Regions from separate parts of the Homo sapiens genome. Here all the other regions are linked to region 6. The links are contacts of gene promoters, found by promoter capture Hi-C in blood cells and fetal thymus (Javierre and others, 2016). All regions are on one chromosome and are shown on one strand. Each heading gives the region's core, a stretch centred on a gene start or on the middle of the fragment in contact. The rest is flanking DNA. Distances are from core to core; before and after follow the strand shown.

The links. Contacts are between HindIII fragments. The CHiCAGO score rates a contact against its expected background, and 5 or more counts as called.
Region 1: a fragment that was not itself captured here is called in contact with the fragment with the promoter of RAMAC in region 6 in 7 of 17 cell types (naive CD8 T cells, total CD4 T cells, non-activated CD4 T cells and 4 more); the score reaches 8.7 in naive CD8 T cells.
Region 2: a fragment that was not itself captured here is called in contact with the fragment with the promoter of RAMAC in region 6 in 5 of 17 cell types (erythroblasts, total CD8 T cells, activated CD4 T cells and 2 more); the score reaches 9.7 in erythroblasts.
Region 3: a fragment that was not itself captured here is called in contact with the fragment with the promoter of RAMAC in region 6 in 7 of 17 cell types (activated CD4 T cells, naive CD8 T cells, M0 macrophages and 4 more); the score reaches 9.8 in activated CD4 T cells.
Region 4: a contact is called between a fragment that was not itself captured here and the fragment with the promoter of RAMAC in region 6, in 8 of 17 cell types (naive CD8 T cells, non-activated CD4 T cells, total CD4 T cells and 5 more). The highest score is 9.6, in naive CD8 T cells.
Region 5: a fragment that was not itself captured here is called in contact with the fragment with the promoter of RAMAC in region 6 in 2 of 17 cell types (naive CD8 T cells and non-activated CD4 T cells); the score reaches 7.0 in naive CD8 T cells.
Region 7: a contact is called between a fragment that was not itself captured here and the fragment with the promoter of RAMAC in region 6, in 6 of 17 cell types (total CD4 T cells, activated CD4 T cells, M0 macrophages and 3 more). The highest score is 6.8, in total CD4 T cells.

The regions. Positions count from the first base shown.
Region 1 is chr15:82,687,574-82,690,473 of GRCh38, reverse strand. It overlaps AP3B2 (adaptor related protein complex 3 subunit beta 2), which reads left to right. Exons shown (of 27, transcript NM_001278512.2): 2 at 1,021-1,096; 3 at 1,242-1,316; 4 at 1,643-1,738. All of the region lies in intron 3 of CPEB1-AS1 (CPEB1 antisense RNA 1), which reads right to left. Among named protein-coding and RNA genes, the nearest start is that of AP3B2, 21 kb to the left of the region's middle. The HindIII fragment of the contact is 277 bases long and covers 1,377-1,653 here.
Region 2 is chr15:82,639,728-82,642,559 of GRCh38, reverse strand. All of the region lies in intron 1 of CPEB1 (cytoplasmic polyadenylation element binding protein 1), which reads left to right. Among named protein-coding and RNA genes, the nearest start is that of CPEB1, 6.2 kb to the left of the region's middle. The HindIII fragment of the contact is 2,211 bases long and covers 297-2,507 here.
Region 3 is chr15:82,563,107-82,565,806 of GRCh38, reverse strand. All of the region lies in intron 4 of CPEB1 (cytoplasmic polyadenylation element binding protein 1), which reads left to right. Among named protein-coding and RNA genes, the nearest start is that of RPS17, 24 kb to the right of the region's middle. The HindIII fragment of the contact is 4,848 bases long and covers 1-2,700 here.
Region 4 is chr15:82,670,343-82,673,042 of GRCh38, reverse strand. The region is part of intron 14 of AP3B2 (adaptor related protein complex 3 subunit beta 2); the gene reads left to right. The region is part of intron 3 of CPEB1-AS1 (CPEB1 antisense RNA 1); the gene reads right to left. Among named protein-coding and RNA genes, the nearest start is that of CPEB1-AS1, 24 kb to the right of the region's middle. The HindIII fragment of the contact is 8,602 bases long and covers 1-2,700 here.
Region 5 is chr15:82,619,877-82,622,582 of GRCh38, reverse strand. All of the region lies in intron 3 of CPEB1 (cytoplasmic polyadenylation element binding protein 1), which reads left to right. Among named protein-coding and RNA genes, the nearest start is that of CPEB1, 26 kb to the left of the region's middle. The HindIII fragment of the contact is 6,371 bases long and covers 1-2,706 here.
Region 6 is chr15:82,984,851-82,987,550 of GRCh38, reverse strand. RAMAC (RNA guanine-7 methyltransferase activating subunit) reads right to left here and starts at 1,341. Exons shown (of 4, transcript NM_031452.4): 1 at 1,182-1,341; 2 at 167-215. It also overlaps a transcript of HOMER2 not described here. The HindIII fragment of the contact is 1,767 bases long and covers 159-1,925 here.
Region 7 is chr15:82,581,601-82,584,300 of GRCh38, reverse strand. All of the region lies in intron 3 of CPEB1 (cytoplasmic polyadenylation element binding protein 1), which reads left to right. Among named protein-coding and RNA genes, the nearest start is that of RPS17, 42 kb to the right of the region's middle. The HindIII fragment of the contact is 1,149 bases long and covers 733-1,881 here.

The sequences.
Region 1 (2,900 bases), core at 266-2,765, 300 kb after region 6:
TGAACAATGAGAACACTTGAACACGGGGTGGGGAACATCACACACTGGGGCCTGTTGTGGCGTTGGGGGAGGAGGGAGGGATAGCATTAGGAGGAATACCTAATGTAAATGACGAATTAATGGGTGCAGCACACCAACATGGCACATGTATACATATGTAACAAAGCTGCACGTTGTGCACATGTACCCTAGAACTTAAAAGTATAATTAAAAAAAAAAAGTTTAGTAATTGAAAAAAAAAAGTACAACAATTGGGTTGGTTGGAACAGCAGAAATGAATTGTCTCACAGCTCTGGAGGCCAAAAGTCTGAACTCAAGGTGTCGGCAGGACCATGCTCCCTCTGAAACCCATAGGGAAATCCTTCTTTGCCCCTTCTAGCTTCTGGTTGTTTGCTGGCAGTCTCTGGCATTCCCTGGCTTGTAGACGCATCTTTCCAATCGTCTGCCTTCACATGGTAGTCTCCCTGTGTCTGTCTCTTTAAGTGGCTGTCTTTTGTTTTTTGTGTTTTTTTAATTTCAATTTAATCTATTTTTTGTAGACACATTGTTTCACCATGTTGCCAGGCTGGTCTCGAACTCCAGGGCTCAAGTGATCCTCCCGTCTCAGCTTCCCAAAGTGCTGGGATTACAGGCGTGAGCCGCCACACCCAGCCCACATGGCTGTCTTCTTATGGGAAACCAGACATGGGATTAGAGACCCACTCTATTAGAGTAGGATTGCATTTAACTAATTACATCTGCAACAACTCTATTTCCAAATAAGGTTACATTCTGAGGTACTAGGGGTTAAGACTTAAATATATCCTTTTTAGGAAGGACACAGTTCAACCCACAATATTAGCTGGCCACATGTTTCCCCTGATCTGTACTTTACTTGTTCCCCCTGGCTCTGGTCCCTCCTCGGGTCAGGTCCTGCCTGAGCCTCCCCTGGCCATGTCCCTTCTTTGTGCCTGGACCCTCCTGATTAATACCCCATCCCCACCCTTGTGCCCTCAGCTGACTTCTTGTACCTCCCACCAGGCATGATGACCTGAAGGAGATGCTGGACACCAACAAGGATTCTCTCAAGCTGGAGGCCATGAAGAGGATTGTGGCGGTAAGAGGGGAAGGAGGAGGCCTCCCTCCGGGCGGGGCCTGGGTGGCCAAGAGCAGCTCTCCTTAGCTCCTTGTAGACCTTCCCTCTAGTTAGTGCTGTGCCTCTCGCTTTGTCCCTCTTCCCCTACCTTGACCCCACCACCCAGATGATTGCCCGAGGAAAGAATGCTTCAGACCTGTTTCCCGCGGTGGTGAAGAACGTGGCCTGTAAGAACATAGAGGTGAGCACTACCTGGTGAGGGATTGCTTGTCCCCACCTCCCCCAGGACCACACTCAAGCTTGGGGTGAGGAAGGAAATGATTTAGCCCCTGGGGGCCCGACCTGCTGAGAAATGTCTCTGAGCCAGGAGAAGACACTGTCTCCATGTCCCTGAACTGGATGTGGATCAAGGTAAAGGACCCGGATACACTCAGGGGTGCTCTCCCCCACTGGGAGAGTTTGTCCCCATGGACCGCAGCTGGCTGGGGAGATGACATCCCAGGGGTAGGGGGGTGGGCACAGGTGCCTGCTGAGAAGCGTTCTGCTGAGAAACGTGCTCTCCCCAAGGTGAAGAAGCTTGTCTATGTGTACCTGGTACGCTACGCTGAGGAGCAGCAAGACCTGGCCCTGCTGTCCATCTCCACCTTCCAACGTGGCCTAAAGGTCAGGGGTCTCAGTTTGCCTCCCAGGGCCTGGGCCTCGTTGGCGCTGTATCGGAGGAGTAGGCCTGGGGAGAGGCCATGAGCATGGGAGCGGGCTCTGCAGACCCCTTCCTACCTGCCTAAAATTGGGAGGGTCACAGTCAGAAGAGGCCAGCCAGACCCTCAGAGAGTGGAAGCTGGGCTCAGAAGGGGCGTAAGAGATGAAGTGGGTACCCAGGGCCCCTGTCTCTCTTCCCAGGAGCCTGTGGTAATGGCTGCTTCTAGTATGAACCACTTGAGCCCCCGGAGAGTGGAGAGTCTCTAGCAATGGAGAACCCCTCAACCCTCACCCCCCTTTGTGTAAAGGTGTGAATTGTGGTCCACAGCCAGGTAGATTTCAACCTTTAGCAGTGGCCTGAATCCCCCACACCATTCTCACCTTTTGTTTCATTTTGCCCAAGGCCTCTAGTTGGATTTACATATGTTAGGTGCATGTATAAGTCTCCCCCCTAAGGGCTTTTCTGGTTAGTCTAAGACATCTTGAGGGTAAAGACAGCCATTTCAAGGCCATTCTCTCCATATTGGATTTTTCAGCTCTGATTACAACCATTAACTCCTCTATTTTTGCATACCTTTATTTATTTATTTATTTATGAGACAGGTTCTCACTGTGTTGCCCAGGCTGGAGTGCAGTGGTGCAATCATGGCTCACTGGAGCCTCGACTTCCCTGAGCTCAGGTGATTCTCCCACCTCTGTCTCCTGAGTAGCTGCGACTACTCAGCCTGCATCACCATGCTCGGCTAATTTTTTTGTAGTTTTTGTAGAGATGGGGTTTCACCCTGTTGCCTATGCTGGTCTTGGACTCCTGGGCTCAAGTGGCCTCAGCTTCCCAAAGTGCTGGGATTACAGGGATGAGCTAATACTCCTAGCCTGGATACTTTTAGTTCAAATTTCTGTGAGAGAGATTGTGAAAGGTCCAGCTCATCTTTTCATATCCAGAAGTTCTGTAGGTTGCTGGGTAGACAGGATTGCTGCTCAAATCCAGGGCCCACCCCTTGTCCAATCTGCTATGGCCAGCAAGAGGGGTTGACAGTCGGCTTCTTTGGGGTGAGAGTAGAAAGCATGGTCACTTGAATATACAATTCATTCATTTAGTAAATACTTGGGTGTCTCTATGCCACAC
Region 2 (2,832 bases), core at 153-2,652, 350 kb after region 6:
AAGGTTTTTTTTGAGACAAGGTCTCACTGTGTCACCCAGGCTGGCGGGCAGTGGTGCAATCACAGCTTACTGCAGCCTCAAAGCTCCCTGGCTTAAGGGATCCTTCAGCCTCAGCCTCCGAAGTAGCTAGGACTACAGCCATTCAACATGTTTGGCTACTTTTTAAAAAATTTTTTCTTTGAGATGGGGTTTCACTATGTTGGCCAGGCTTATCCTCGGCTCAAGCCATCCTCCTGCCTCAGCCTCCCAGAGTATTGGGATTACAGGTATGAGCCACCATGCAGGCTCTTAAAGCTTTTTGGTCACCATGAACTTTGCTTCCTTTGCACCCAACATTGCAGTTTTGGAAATGCCCTTAGTTTTTTCCTGCCGTTGTTGCAGCCTGCTTTAGAGCGTCTCATCTTCTGTGAGCACAGATTCCGTAGAAAGTTTTTATGTTGAAGATAGGACCTGCCCCAACAGTGCATTTCTCAATTATAGTAAACTAGCTGAAAAAGATTGAACTAAAACATGTATGATGTAATATTTCATATTTTCATAGGAAAATTATCTGACTTGCTGTAAAAAGTTAGTATCCAAATTTCAGAGTGCTAAATTCACATTGTAGATGTAATTTCCAATGAATTTTATTAGGTGTCATTTTAAAGCCCAATGTTAGGGATTATTTTGCCACCCTAATATATAATGTGGTTTTGATTAACTTGGACCTGGGAGGATTCCTGACTGACTGGGGTTGAGCTTTACTTTCAGTAGTTCAGGAGAACACTTAGGCATGGATAACCTTTGAATTCTTTTTTTTTTTTTTTGTATTCTTGAATGGTGGAACAGTCCTTTTAAATTATAGTGAGTTAACACTCTTTGTTTTGATTTATTTAAGGCATTCGTGATGAGTTCCCCTGAGGTAACAGGAGAATCCCCAGAGGGCAGGTCTAAAGGTTGGTTTGTATGCTAAAAACGGGTCTTGGTTGCAAGTAGCTATTGATTTTAGGAGTAACTTGACTAAGAGTGTTACTTGTTTCTTTATTCTTGGCCAGCATAATATGCTGCTTTATGTACCATCCTGACAGATTTAGCCCCACTTCCTACAATCCCCTTTGATAAAAGTGTGGGAGTAGCTCTCCTCTGTTGGAAGAGAACAGTTACTGTGAAGGGCAGGTTGGTTTTTTTGTGTCTTTTTACAGAACACTTAATCTCTTACTACTTAACACCTGTGCTCTCTGCATTCTGGCTTTGTGCTCCTGGGTTCTGGCCCTGACACCATCTGTCTGTCTCCCATGTGTCTGCCCTTTCTCCTGAGGCTTTTTGTTTTTGTTTTTGTTTTTTTTTAAAGCTGTAATCTTGGAATTGTTGTGAAGCTCAAAAGGTGTTAGAGACCTGTCTCCTACATATAACTTGGAGTTGACACCAAAGCCAGATATAATCTCTGACATCCTCTTTTCATGGACTAGGAGAATTAAGTTTAGAATGGAAAGTGATTACCCTAATTTTATACTGTGAGCAGGGAATAGAGACAGAACTTGAACCCACGTTTTCTCATTTCTAGACTAGTACTATTTGTAAAATTCATACACTCTTACCTCTGCTGTGTTGGTCTCTTATTGTACTTGAAATGTCCATTTGGTTTGTAAGACTATGGCTTCCTTTTTTTTTTTTTTCCTTATCTGATCAATCTTGTCTTGTCTTGGTACTTGCAGGCTTCCTTTTCTCCCCAAATGCCGCATTCTTCACAGTTCAACCCTGTTGGATCATTCCTGTCTCCTTATATATACAGGAGACCCATGTGTTCCTATAGAAGCACCAGTTGACTGTTGTGTGCCCAAGTTTTAGATTGAGCTCTTTAGCCTTGGTTGTTCTGAAGACTTATACTTCTGATTGGACTACCGAATGCGTGTATCTATCTGAGGTATGTTAAACCCAGCAGATATAAAAACAGAACCAATTTCTTCCTTTTCCTCATCAGAAATAACATCAGAAGTAGGCAGGTAAAAGATTTAAAGGTTATTGCCAAAACAGGCATAGTGTAGGGAGTGGGAAGGACATTCTAGGCAAAAGGAACAACATGTATAAGGACAAGGAGATATGAAACAGGGCTGTTTTTAGGCAACTAGAAGTACAGTATTGCTAGAATTTTAAGCGCAAGGGGTACTAGCTTATGACCTGGTAGTCCACTTGTGTTCCTATGTGCAAGAGAAATGAGCACATATGAGTATAAAAAGGCATGCACAAGAATATTCACAGCAGTTTTATTCATAATATTCAAAATCTGAAGAAAAAGCAAGCTAGTTGTGGCACCTGTAGTACCAGCTACCGGGGAGGCTGAGGCAGGAGAATCCCTTGAGCCTAGGAGTTCAATTCTGGTCTGGACCACATATCCAGACCCTGTCCCTAAAAATAGGACAAAACAACAAACGCCTGTTATGTCTGGTCCCCCAAGACAGTGCCTAAATTAGATGATTGACTAGGAAGATTCACAGGAGTCAGCATATAGTGGTTCTCATAGCTAAGCTTACAGCTAAAGGATATGGAGAAAAACCATCAAAGGGAAAAGGCACGTGGGGTGAAATCTGGTACAAGCTTCCAATGTTCTTTTCCCGGGAGAGTTAAACAGGACATAGTTTAATTCCCCTACAACTGACAACATATGTAAAATGTTGCCAGCCAGAATAGCTTGTTAGAATCTGGGCACCCAGAGAGAGAGAGAGAGAGAGAGTGTTTGCGCGTGTGTGTCTGAGGACTGGTTGAATAGGTAGCCTCTGCCTGAAATGTACCAAAATTTCAGACTCCAGGAGGAAAGCCGATGTTCAGCATAAACCATATTGTTTGTTCCTTTGG
Region 3 (2,700 bases), core at 194-2,693, 420 kb after region 6:
GCTGGAGGCACTTGGTAAACCTCAGACTTTCCATGATCCCTTGTGTTCTGGAGGCCAGGAAAGAACAGAGCAAAGAGGTCAGGGCCTTGGCCGTTATTGGAGATTGACTCTAGGACTTCTCACCACCCCTCCCCCTCCTCTAATCCATCTAGGTTAATACTTGACATTTGGAATTATGAAGTTGTGTGCCCCATGATGGGGAGTGGACTTTGAGATGAGACACTGGCCTGCATTATAAGGGACCTGTCATTTCCACTGGATTTTAGTTTGTGTGGCTTAAAGAGAATGCCTTTCCAGTTAGGTATGCTCGTGGCTTTGAATATAAATGGGAACAGTCTAACGCTAGCTATTTTGCTCCTTTCCTTCTGATTCCCAGCTGGTGGAAATCGGTGCTGCGTACTCAGCAACCTTACATAGGGCAGGTATGGTCTCATGAGCTGGGAGCAAGACAGGTTTTCTTTCTTGAAATGAGGTCCCCCCACTTCCCTTTGTCTTTGCTGCTTTGCTGCTTTCTTTCCATTGTCTTTGCTGCTTTCCTTCCTTTGATCTGTAGACACTCAGAGAACTGCCTGGCCAGACCCTATAGAGGTACAATTAGGTCACTCTAGGGCATCTGACCATGGGTGGCAGTTTCCACAAAATTCACTTGTTCTGTGGGTTGAAGGAAATATCAAACCAGCTGGCAAGTTCTAGGCCTCTTGTCTTCTTGGTATCTTCTAGTCAAATTTACAGTATATCCCTTCTGATTTAATATTTGCAGGAAACTGATGCATGGAGATGCTGACATCCCACGTGTTAATTCTGGGGCACCCTGATCCTATTCTCTAGGATGGCATTGCCCCTTTCTGAGCCATCAATCCAAGTCCTTTCCCCGTTTTTCTATGTGGTTGGTATATAATTCAGTGAGACACTCTTTCTTGCTCCTGTACTTGAATGTAGGAGTGTATTGCAGTGGCCCTGAAGATCCCAGTAGAGTCTGGGGAGGGTTGATTAGGACAGAGTGATTTCCACCCTGCCCCTCCTCAAGCAGAGGAGCTTTCTTCAACCTTTTTCTCTTTGAAGAAATTGAGACTCAGGGAAGAAGTATTGTCGCAGATGTGATGCGGTGAGTCACTGGTTTTTAAACCTCTGTTTTGGCGATGGGCTGGGTAGGGATGAGTTAAGGTTTATTCCCCTAAATCTGTATTACACTCTAAGTCAACATTGTGTCCTTAGGCTGGGCGCAGTGGCTCACGCCTGTAATTCCAGCCCTTTGGGAGGCTGAGGCGGGTGGATCACAAGGTCAGGAGATCAAGACCATCCTGGCTAACACGGTGAAACCCCATCTCTGCTAAAAACACACACACACACAAAATTAGCCGGGTGTGGTGGCAGGTGCCTGTAGTCCCAGCTACTCGGGAGGCTGAGGCAGGAGAATGGCGTGAACCCGGGAGGCAGAGCTTGCAGTGAGCTGAGATCACGCCACCGCACTCCAGCCTGGGCAACAGAGCGAGACTCCGTCTCAAAAAAAAACAAAACAAAAAAACAAAAAAAACCATTGTGTCCTTAAATTGAATATCCTTGATAGAAAAGGGTAGGGCCTTAGCGTACTGGCTCTATGGAATACGTACTCTCTGTCTTTCAGTAGAATTCAGCAGTCATTGTTCACCTGCTTTTTGCCAGATGTTGAGCTAATTGCTATTGGAGTAGGATGGTAAAGATTGGTCTTGGTATGCTTGGTTGAGAAGGCACAACTTTTTACACATGTGGGCCTGCAAATATCTATGCAGATTTTTTTGAGACTTTAAAAAGCATGTTTAAAAGATTATTTCTTCTAATAGAGACTCCAAAAGTACTCAATTACTGTCTTATCCTCTGGGATCCTAGTTCCTATTACTTGTGCTTGATTTCCCTCTGCTGATTAGATAAGTTACCTTGAAAGAGGCAAAGAAAGCCAAATGGGAATTGACTTGTTTTTCTTCCTGTCATTAAAAAAAAATGGAAATAATTTCAAATTTATAGAAGTTATACAAATAAAATTATACAAAGAATATTTGTAATCCTTTTTATCCAGAACCTCCTATTGTTCGTGTTCATTTTACCCCATTTGCTTTATCATTTGCACATTCTCTCTCCATGTATCAATACATAATTGTTTTCTGAATCATTAAGAGGAGAGATAATTGGCCCAGGCACGGAGGCTCACACCTGTGACCTGAGTACTTTGGGAGGCTGAGGCAGGAGGATTGCTTGAGCCCAGGAGTTCAAGACCAGCCTGGGCAACAGAGTGAGATCCTGCCTCTACCAAAAAAAAAAAAAAAAAATTAGTCAGACATGGTGGCATGCCGCTAGCTACTTTGGAGGCTGAAGTGGGAGGTTGAGACTGCAGTGAGCTGTAATTGTGCACCTGCGCTCTAGCCTGGGTTACAGAGGGAGACCCTTGCTCAAAAAAAAAAAAAAAAAAAAAAAAGAATAGAGATGATCTTACATACATTCATATGTAACAAAACAGTTAACTTTAGTCAATTTAAAGTTGATAACACTACTTTGATTAAACTGTCATTCATATTCCAGTTTTGTCAAGTGACCCAGTAATGTCCTTAAATCCTTAATAACATTTTTCTCTTTCTGCTCTAAGTAGGCCCTTGCTCCTTTTGGTTTTGCTCCGTGTGAGCTTACAAAGTCCCTTGGGTTGTCTTGAATGTTTTTCACAGTGATCAG
Region 4 (2,700 bases), core at 15-2,514, 310 kb after region 6:
CTACAACTGAGGTGTCAGCCAAGGCTGAGTTTTTATCTGGAGGCTGTACTGGGGAAAGGTCCACTTCCAAGTCACATGGTGCCACGATCCACTTCCTTGCAGTTGTAGGATTGTGGCCCTGGCTTCTTGCTGGCTGTCAGCTGGGGGCTGCCCTTGCCTTCTAGAGGCCGTCCTTAGCTCATTGCCATAGGGGCCTCCCAACACGGATGCTTAATTTCTCCAAAGCCACAAGGGAGAAAGTCTCTAGAGCCAGTCTGCTAGCAAGACCGTCTTCTTTTTATTTTTTAATTTTTATGGGTACATAGTAGGTGTATATATTTATGGGGTATGTGAGATATTTTGATACAGGCATATAATGCATAACAATCACATCAGGGAATGGGGTATCCATCCTCTCAAGCATTTATCTTTTGTGTTACAAACAATCAAATTACACTCTCTTAGTTATTTATAAATGTATAATAAATTATTGTTGACTGTAGTCACCCTGTTGTGCTGTCAAATACTAGATCTTACACATTCTATCTAACTATAATTTTGTACCCATTAACTATCCCCACTTCCCCCACCCACTACCCTTCTCAGCCTCTGGTAACCATTATTCTACTCTCCAACTCCATGAGCTCAATTCTTTTAATTTTTAGCCCTCACAAATAAGTGAGAACATGTGAAGTTTGTTTTTCTGTGCTTGGCTTATTTCACTTAAAATAATGACCTCTAGTTCTATCCATGTTGTTGCAAATGACAGGATCTCATTCTTTTTTATTCTTTTTTTATAGTACTGCATTGTGCATATGTACCGTATTTTCTTTATCTATTTGTCTGTTGATAGACACTTAAGTTGCTTTCAAATCTTGGCTATGGTGAACAGTGCTGCAATAAACGTAGGTGTGCAGATATAACTTCAATATGTTGATTTCCTTACTTTTGGGTATATACATAGCATTGGGATTGCTGGATCATATGGTAGCACTATTTTTAGTTTTTGTTTGTTTGTTTGAGATGGAGTCTTGCACTGTCACCCAGGCTGGAGTGCAATGGCATGATCTCAGCTCACTGCAACCTCCGCCTCCCAGGTTCAAACGATTCTCCTGCCTCAGCCTCCTGAGTAGCTGGGATTACAGGCGCCCGCCACCAAGTCTGGCTAATTTTCATATTTTTAGTAGAGATGGGGTTTCACCATGTTGGCCAGGCTGGTCTTGAACTCCTGGCCGCAAGTGATCTGCCCGACTCGGCCTCCCAAAGTGCTGGGATTACAGGCGTGAGCCACTGCACCTGGCCTATTTGTAGTGTTTTTTTTTGAGATGGTGTTTCACTCTTTTTTCCCAGGCTGGAGTGCAATGGCGTGATCTTGCCTCACTGCAACCTCTGCCTCCTGGGTGCAAGTGATTCTTCTTCTGCCTCAGCCTCCCAAGTAGCTGAGATTACAGGTGCCTGCCACCACGCCTAGCTAATTTTTTGTATTTTTAGTAGAGACAGGGTTTCACCATGTTGGCCAGGATGGTCTTGATCTCTTGACCTCGCGATCCACCCACCTCGGCCTCCCAAAGTGCTGGGATTACAGGTGTGAGCCACCGTGCCCGGCCTATGTTTAGTTTTTTAAGGAACCTCCAAACTGTTCTCCAGACATTTCCACTAACAGTGTACAAGGGTTGCCTTTTCTCCATGTTCTTGTCAGCATTTGTTATTGCCTATCTTTTGGATATAAGCCTACTTGGGGTGAGATGATATATCTTTTTTTGTTTTGTTTTGTTTTTTGAGACGGAGTCTTGCTCTGTCACCCAGGCTGGAGTGTGCAGTGGTGCGATCTTGGCTCACTGCAACCTCTGCCTCTGTGGTTCAAGTGATTCTCCTGCCTCAGCCTCCTGAGTAGCTGGGACTACAGGCGTGCGTCACCACGCCCCGTTAATTTCTGTACTTTTAGTAAAGATGGGGTTTCGCTGTGTTGGTCAGGCTGGTCTCAACTCCTGATCTCAGGTGATCCGCCTGCCTCAGCCTCCCAAAGTACTGGGATTACAGGCATGAGCCACCCGTGCCTGGCCTTTCATTGTAGTTTTGATTTGCATTTCTCTGATGCTCAATGATGTTGATCACCTTTTCATATACGTGTTTGCTATCTGTATGTCTTCTTTTGAGAAATGTCTATTCAGCTCTTTTGCCCATTTTTAAATTGGATTATTGAATTTTTTTTTCCTATTGAGTTATTTGATCTCCTTACGTATTCTGGTTATTAATCCCTTGTCAGATGGGTAGTTTGCAAATTTTTTCCTCCTATTCTGTGGCTTGTCTCTTTGTTGATTCCTTTGCTGTGCAGAACCTTTGTAACTTGATGTGATCCCATTTGTCTACTTTTGCTTTGGTTGCCCGTGCTTGTGGGGTATCACTCAAGAAATCTTTGCCCAGTACAATGTCCTGGAGAATTTCTCTAATGTTTTCTTTTATTAGTTTCATAGTTTGAAGTGTTAGATTTAAGTTTTTAATCCACTATGATTTGATTTTTGCATATGGTGAGAGATAGGGGTCTGGTTTTATTGTTCTGCATGTGGATATCCCGTTTTCCCAGCGCCATTTATTGAAGAGACTCTCCTTTCCCTAATGTATGTTCTTGATACCTTTGTCAAAAATGAATTCACGGCCAGGCGTGGTGGCTCATGCCTGTAATCCCAGCATCTTGGGAGGCCGAGGCTGGTGGATCACCTG
Region 5 (2,706 bases), core at 62-2,561, 360 kb after region 6:
TTGTCTCTATTAAAAATAGAAAAATTAACCGGGCATGATGGTGCGTGCCTGTAGTCCGGGAGGCTGAGGCAGGAGAATTGCTTGAACCGGGGAGTCGGAGGTTGCAGTGAGCCGAGGTTGCACTCTGTATTCCAGCCTGGGTGATAGAGTGCGACTCTGGAGAGAGATGTGGCGGGGCAGGGAAAGAGTAGCTGGAGCATCTGAATTCCCCGTTTATATACAAGAAAGTTATGACTTGCTGTGGTTTAAGAGGGTTTTGCAAAGGCCTGAGCTTTTGGGCTAGTACCCCACCAAGAAGGCCCTTGTTGCATGATGGGTGGTAGGAGCTAGGGTGGGGCTGGAAGGTCAGGCCAGAGCTGGATTTCCTACCCCAACAACTGTCTAGTGGAGATGACAGGGATGTCTGCCACCTAGAGGGCCCTCTCCACATTCCCTAGTCCTTTAAGCCATAGACCTTTTGGAATCTGTGAGGAATGGAGAAAATGGGCTGCAAATGGACATGTGATTTAAGCATTAATGTGTTGAGTTGTTAGTAACGGTGTCTGTAAAGATGTGAAAAGTGGTGAAACATCATTAAGGGATGTCTTAACTGCTATATGGGTAGGGAGACTTAATATTTAGGATGGAGGCAATGATTGGAGGAGCAGTTTCATATTAATTCACTGAGATGCCATTTCTCAATAATCAGTTAAAATAGCTTGGAGGTTTAGAAAGGAATTGACTAGCCAAAGCAGTCCTAAGTAAGGTTTAGCACTGATATGTTTATTTAACAGTTTTTAAAAACTGAAATATAATACACATACAGGAAAGTACATGCTGTATCATAGGCGAAGAGCTCCAACTTTCCCAAACTGAACACAACCATGTAACCAGCTCTCAGACCTAAATAGACTGCTGACTTTTAATGTAGGACCAAAGAATTGTATAGTTGTAGCCTGATGTTAGATTTTTTTTTTTTTTTTCTGAGATGGAGTTTCACTCTTGTTTCCCAGGCTGGAGTGCAATGGCGGGATCTTGGCTCACCGCAACCTCTGCCCGGGTTCAAGTGAGTCTCCTGCCTCAGCCTCCTGAGTAGCTGGTATTACAGGCATGTGCCACCACCCCTGGCTAATTTTGTATTTTTAGTAGAGACGGGGTTTCTCCATATTGGTCAGGCTGGTCTTGAACTCCTGGCCTCAGGTGATCCGCCTGCCTCGGCCTCCCAAAGTGCTGGGATTACAGGCGTGAGCCACTGCACCTGGCCTGGATTTTTTTTTTTTTTTTAAGAGACATGGTGTCACTGTGTTGCCCAGGCTGGTCTCAGACTCCTGGCCTCAAGCCATCCTCCTGCCTCAGCCTCCCAAGTTGCTGGGATTACTGGCATGACTAATGTTGAATTTTTGACTGAGATGGTTTCACTTCTTATTGTACTGGATCATAAACCGTATCGTCACTAAATTGTCTGAAAAGCTATTCCAAAACAAAGTTTAATACATTCAGTCCCATCTTGCAGGAAATGATTGAAATTACTCTCATGAAGTCTTGTTTCCCACAAAATAAACTTTTATGGAACCTTACTGTGTGGCTTTAACAGTTAAGTGGCAACGATTTAACTTGTGTTGTTGAAGTTAACTTACAGAAAAGTATGAGTGTACTATTCACTGAATTTTTATATACTGAACACATCTTGTATAACTAGTCACATGTAGAGGCAAAAATTAAGAATACACCAAAATTCCCCTTGCAGTCCTTTCAGTCTCTAGTTTACAAAGGGCACTTGTTATGCTAAATTTTTATTTTTCTGAGATGGGGTATCACTGTCACCCAGGCTGCAGCACAGTTGTATGATCATAGCTCACTGCAGCCTTGAACTCCTGGGCTCAAGTGATCCTCTTGCCTCAGCCTTCTGAGTAGATGGGACTGCAATCATGCGCCACCATGCCCAACTAATTTTTTTTTTTAAGTTTTTGTAGAGACAGAATCTTGCTGTGTTGACCAGGCTGGTCTTGGACTCTTGGGCTTAAGCAAATTCCTTGCCTTGGCTTCCGAAAGTGTTGGGATTATAGGCATGAGCCACCACACCCAGTTCATGCTGACTTTTAATTGCATAGATAAATTGTACCTGATTTTGAATTTACATAAATGGAATCACAGATATGTACACTTTTTTTTTCTTTTTGAGACAGAGTCTTGCTCTGTCGCCCAGACTACAGTGCAGTGGTGTGATCTTGGCTCCCTGCATCCTCCGCCTCCCAGGTTCAAGGGATTCTTCTCCCTCAGCCTCCCAAGTAGCTGGGACTACAGGCACATGCCACCACACCCGGCTAATTTTTGTATTTTTAGTAGAGACATAGTAGAGACATACTGGCCATATTCACCATATTGGCAAGGCTGGTCTCAAACTCCTGACCTCGTGATCCGCCTGCCTTGGCTTCCCAAAGTGCTGAGATTATAGGGGTGAGCAACCACACCCGGCCCAGATATGTACTCTTTAGCTGTGAGTTTCATCCATGTTGCAACTGGTTGTGGGTCATTGATTCCTGTTGCTTTACAGTATTCCATTGTATGAATGTACCAGTGCTTATTCATTATACTGTTAATAGGCATTTGAGTTGTTTCCAGTTTGGGGCCATTGCGAATAGTGCTGCTATTATCTTTTGGTGAATTAATTTCCCTTGGTTATCTTCCTAGGAGAGGGATTGTTGGGTCATAGGGTATACGTATGTT
Region 6 (2,700 bases), core at 92-2,591:
GATGGGCAGTAAAAATCATAAGGCAAGGAAAAGGTGCTACTCCATTTTTATGTTCTCATATGTTCTCCCACGACTCCCCACCCATACTCATGTAAACAAATATCAACTGTATTATTACTGAGAACGAAATTTAAATAGAATGTTAATCGACCCAAGCTTTACTTACCCCAAAGGTTTGAGGCAGCTGTACTGCTTAATGTTTAGGTTGTTTAAATCTGTGGGAGGAAAAAAACAAACTTGACTTTATTTAAGGAAACTCTCAAAAGGTGTTTGTAGGGGAGGGTGGCGCATAAGAGTCTTATTCAAGGAAAGAATTGGAGTAAAAGTGCTCTAAGGCCAGGCGCGGTGGCTCACCTCTGTAATCCCAACACTTTGGGAGGCCGAGGCGGGCAGATCACGAAGTCAAGAGATCGAGACCAGCCTGGCTAACACGGTGAAACCTCGTCTCTCCTAAAAATAGAAAAAATTAGCCAGGCGTGGTGGCATGTGCCTGTAGTCCCAGCTACTCGGGAGGCTGAGGCAGGAGAATCGCTTGAACTTGGGAGGCGGAGATCGCGCCACTGCACTCCAGCCTGGGCGACAGAGCGAGACTCCGTCTCAAAAAAAAAACAAAAAACAAACCAAAAAAACGCTCTAAAGACTTCCAAAGCTAATATTCCAAAGAGGGAACTGGTTCTCAAGAGCAAGAAGCTACAAGATTTGTCCTCTGGGCCTTCAAAAGCAAAATAGTTCAAGTATGAATACAAACTTCATAAAGTATGTATGTTCTTTTAGGGTAAGCCTTTCAGATTTGTACTTGAATACTGCTAATTTATTCACCACAAATAAAACCACAAAGAACTTTGGCTGCGGGCGACTAACCCTGGAAATAACCAACCAGAATGGGGTTTCGCTGCCCTGGGAGGTGAGCCCGGGGAACAGACGAAGATGCAGACTGAAAACAACTGCGTTTTCCAGTCCGTCCTCAAGGCACATCACAGCTTGCTTACCAAGGTTCTGGCAGATTTGCTCCCTTCCGAAGCACCTTATACCTCCAGAAGTGAGGGAAATTATGGGCCGTGAGAAGTAAACGGGCTTCGGTCTAGCAAAGAGTACAGATCACCGCACAGGGGGAGGACACCTCGCTGGCCACCCAGCTCGGCCGCCCCGCTCCCTCCTCCCGGGCGTCCGGGGCGACTCACCCGCCAAGGGCTATGTCAATCCAGCTCAGGCCGAACCCCGCCGGCGAGACACTGAGAAGCCCAGGAGAGGTGGCCTCTGGTCCACTACACCGTGGAACTCCAGACCACTCCAGTTCTCCAATGTAACCGAGCGCCTTCCTCTAAAATCCGACAACCACCTGACTTCCGCTTCCGGCGGGCTAAAGTTGAGGGTGCCTGTCAAGTCTCGCGATAACTAAGGCTCTCCGTGTGGATCGCTTTGCAACAGATCGCTTCTTCAAATGCTGGCACAACGCCCAGAGCTCGATGAGGTGTGGGCAAGTAGCTGTCTAAAGGTGGATGATGCCCTCCATGCACTTTCAGCCTGCCTGGTGGCTGGGCAGTCGAAAACGTCGCCGTCTATTAAGCTCCTTTGATTGGGAGCAGGTGACGGGTAGAGACGGAAGTTCTGGGAATCACCGGAGAAGGGAGGGAAGGGCTCCTTCCGGCCGCCTGCTCCCGGAGTCTTCGTGGGGAACGTGAGGTGAGAGCAGGCGGTGAAGAGTAGACACGACTGATGACTTCAGGGATGCTACACCTTTCTCTCCTGCCTGGGCAAGCCTCGGTAGTAAGATTTCCGTAGTCCGTTTTGTATGTGGTTTTGCAGAAACATACCCCCTCTCTGCTCCAGCTTCAGTCGTCAGTATCCAGCTACTTCCAAGAGTCTTGCCCATGTCTTGTGGGATGTTCAGCAAATGTATAAACACTTAATATCCCGACAAAGCTTGGCCTCTTCCCTCCCAAATTACTTCCCAGGCTATGCACCCGTTTTTGTTAATACAACCAACTTGGAAACTTTGATGTCAGATTTGATGCCCTTTCTTGCCTTTCCATGCTCCAATCACTTGCCAAGTCCTGTCGATTGTACCCCTACAGTAATTCTTGCATCTTCTTACCCACTGCCCCCACCTAATCAACGTTCTCATTACCATCCCCTGCACGGTGTCAGTGCAGTACCTTTCTCATTGATGTCCTGCCTCTAGCATCACTCTGCTACTAGCCTATCTTACATATACCTGCTATAGGTGTAGCCATCTTCAAGCACCACCGTGATCCAAAATAGCTGATCCAATGGCTCTCTGTTGCCTGTAGATTAAAGGTCAAGTTTATTAACTTGGATTCAAAACTTTTTTTATTTTCTGCTGTTCCCCTTCCATTCTCCCTCAGTCAGTGGTAAACCAGACCCTGTGAAGTACGTCATGCATAAATTATTACATTTTTATAGATTGCTCATGTCCCTTGCATGAAATACCTGTCTCTCCCCCTCATCTCCAAATGTTGAAATTCTTTCCATTATTTAAAGCTTTAGAAAGTGACATCTCTACCTAGAAATAATTTTTCTTTCTATTGAGAGTCCATCATATTTCTGGAATTTCATGTATTTAGTTATTACCACTTTCTAACTTCGAACTAAAATTATTTACTTGCAAGTCTTTCCCCCTATTAAACTGTAAACAGGCCTTTATCTAATGCATTTCTACATTCTGGAGTGTATAACATT
Region 7 (2,700 bases), core at 58-2,557, 400 kb after region 6:
TTTAACTGAAACGTAGCTTTTTTTTTTTTTTTTTTTTTTTTTGAGACGGAGTCTCGCTGTGTCACCCAGGCTGGAGTGCAGTGGTGCGATCTCCACTCACTGCAAGCTCTGCCTGCCGGGTTCATGCCATTCTCCTGCCTCAGCTTCCTGAGTAGCTGGGACTGCAGGCGCCCACCGCCATGCCTGGCTAATTTTTTGTATTTTTAATAGAGACTGGGTTTCACATTGTTAGCCAGGATGGTTTCTGTCTCCTGACCTTGTGATCCACCTGCCTCGACCTCCCAAAGTGCTGGGATTACAGGTGTGAGCCACCAAGCCCAGCTGCATTTCTTTTAACTGTAAGTTTAGGCAACAAGTCACAATATTAGCAGGACCTAATAATTTGGTATCAATAGGATGATCAGACAATTCATATTGATTCCTTTACAGGCATTGTACATACCTTGACATTTATTTACTATTTCAATATTATTACTATTTTATATGTTTTGAAACATTTTTCTTAGAAGGTTTATTGGTTTTAGCAGACTGCCAAATGGTTCATGATACAAAAAAGGTTAACCTCTGGCATTCAGTTTTCGTATTTTGGAGTTTGTTTAAATAGGTGCCTATTTTATACACTTATAAGAAGTACCTGAAGTTAAAGCTTTTGCCTGCATCTGTGATTATTTGGACATAGGATAAATTTCTAAAAGTAGTATTTCTTTATCAAAGAATAAATCTTTTGAAGCTTTCAATGTTTTTGTCAGATTGCTCTCCAGAATGTTGTACCAATTTACCCTCTATATGGAAATACCCTGCCTTCCTGTTTTAAATAACTGGCTTTTATATTATGTAGATGCAGTCGTGATTGGCACTGTAAAGGGTCTCCAATTTGATGTACTGTTTAAGGAACTTCTGCAGACCCCAATTTGAACAGTGTAGTGTCAGGTAAAGTAATGTTTCATTGTGTTTTGGTTATACTAGTTTTACTAAAACTAGTTGTTACCTACAACCTAGATGGCATGTTGTATTCAAGGACTCTGAACCAGAGTCTTCAGGATGGCGTGCTTCAGAACTCCCCCATACCATAAGCAGTAGATTGGATGATGCTAGCCTTGAATCAGCAGTCGTCTTTTTTGCTCTCCATGGGTAAGAAGTAAAATTATCGCCTTTGAAAATAATATATGCACATAGCAGCGAAATCTTAGAAACACCCGAATGTGAAATTGACTTTCTGCTGAATAAGTAGCAGATTGTGGAGAGAGTAGTGGGGAGGGTGAGGGAGTTAGTGTTAAGAATTAAACTCCTACAGCACTTTGGGAGGCTGAGGCGGGCGGATCACAAGGTCAGGAGATCAAGACCATCCTGGTTAACATGATGAAACCCCATCTCTACTAAAAATACAAAAAATTAGCTGTCGTGGTGGCCAGTGTCTGTTGTCCGAGCTACTCAGGGAGGCTGAGGCAGGAGAATGGCGTGAACCCGGGAGGCGGAGCTTGCGGTGAGTCCAGATCACGCCACTGCACTCCAGCCGGGGCAACAGAGTGAGACTGTGTCTCAAAAAAAAAAAAAAAAAAAAAAGAACTCCTAGTATGATGGGATAGGTTTAGTACACAGTATGGGGACCTGAGTGCAGAAAAGGGATCCTTTGCTAACTTAATGATAAAACAGGTCTGAGTAGGGTTATTATGTATGAGTGTAGACCTGGGTCTAGAAAGTGTCCCATTGTGGGAGAGAGGTCAGGGGATCAGTTAGTCCCTGTATTTGAGACCAACAAATCGAGATTTGGATCTTCTGCCTTTTAGTAGCTTTGTCGCTTATGGCCATCTCTGAGCCTTGTGTGCTTTCTAGTAAAAAAAGACGGGATGGCGAGGAATTTGACAAGGTGGTCTTTAAGCTTCTTTCCTGCTTTCTTTTGTGGCTGACTTTCTTAGCTGGTGCCAGGATATTAAGGGCTTTTGTCCCAGAGATTTTTATCCTGCATGCAGTAGTTACTTGTTTGGTCTATCCTTGCTAAAGGGCCTGAATTACGCAGAACACTCCCGTTTGTAAAAAATCAAACACCAAATTAGAACTTACTTTAGTAAAATGTGGGGTATGTTGGAACGCTGTTGATACAAAGCTCATAGAATAGGAAGGAATCACTGGAAAGCTAGGGATACTGAATCTGTGGCCTCCAATTTTGTCTATTTCTGTCTTTCCTCTGCTCATTTCCCAGTGTGAGTTTCATTATCTCCTTTTGCAGAGTTGCCAGTTATGAGAAAGGGTATATGCTCACATCCTTTGGCATCATGGACAATCAGGAAATAGTTCTTTTTCCATTATATACAGTTAGAAAAATCTCAAGGAAAGATACCCAGCTAGCTTGGCTTAAGTCATACCCATACCTGGACTGGTCTCTGTAGTCATGGGAATGGGTAATTCTTGCCCAGCTTGAGTCAGATACTTACCTATGGGACCATCACTGTAACCAGTGAGGTAGAATGCTGCAAGAAGATGCCATTGTCTTTAGGACCACTTGGATGGCAATTCAACAAAAGCAATTCAACAAAAACCTGGTGTCGGGGAGATTTTTAAAAACATTGGGGATTCATGAATTAGGCAACAGCAATCTTCAAACATTTGGGTACAACCTAATTTTTAAAAAAAATGTACACCGCAATGAGATACCAGTTTACACTTGTTAGGATGGCCATTATTAAAATGTAAATTGTCGGC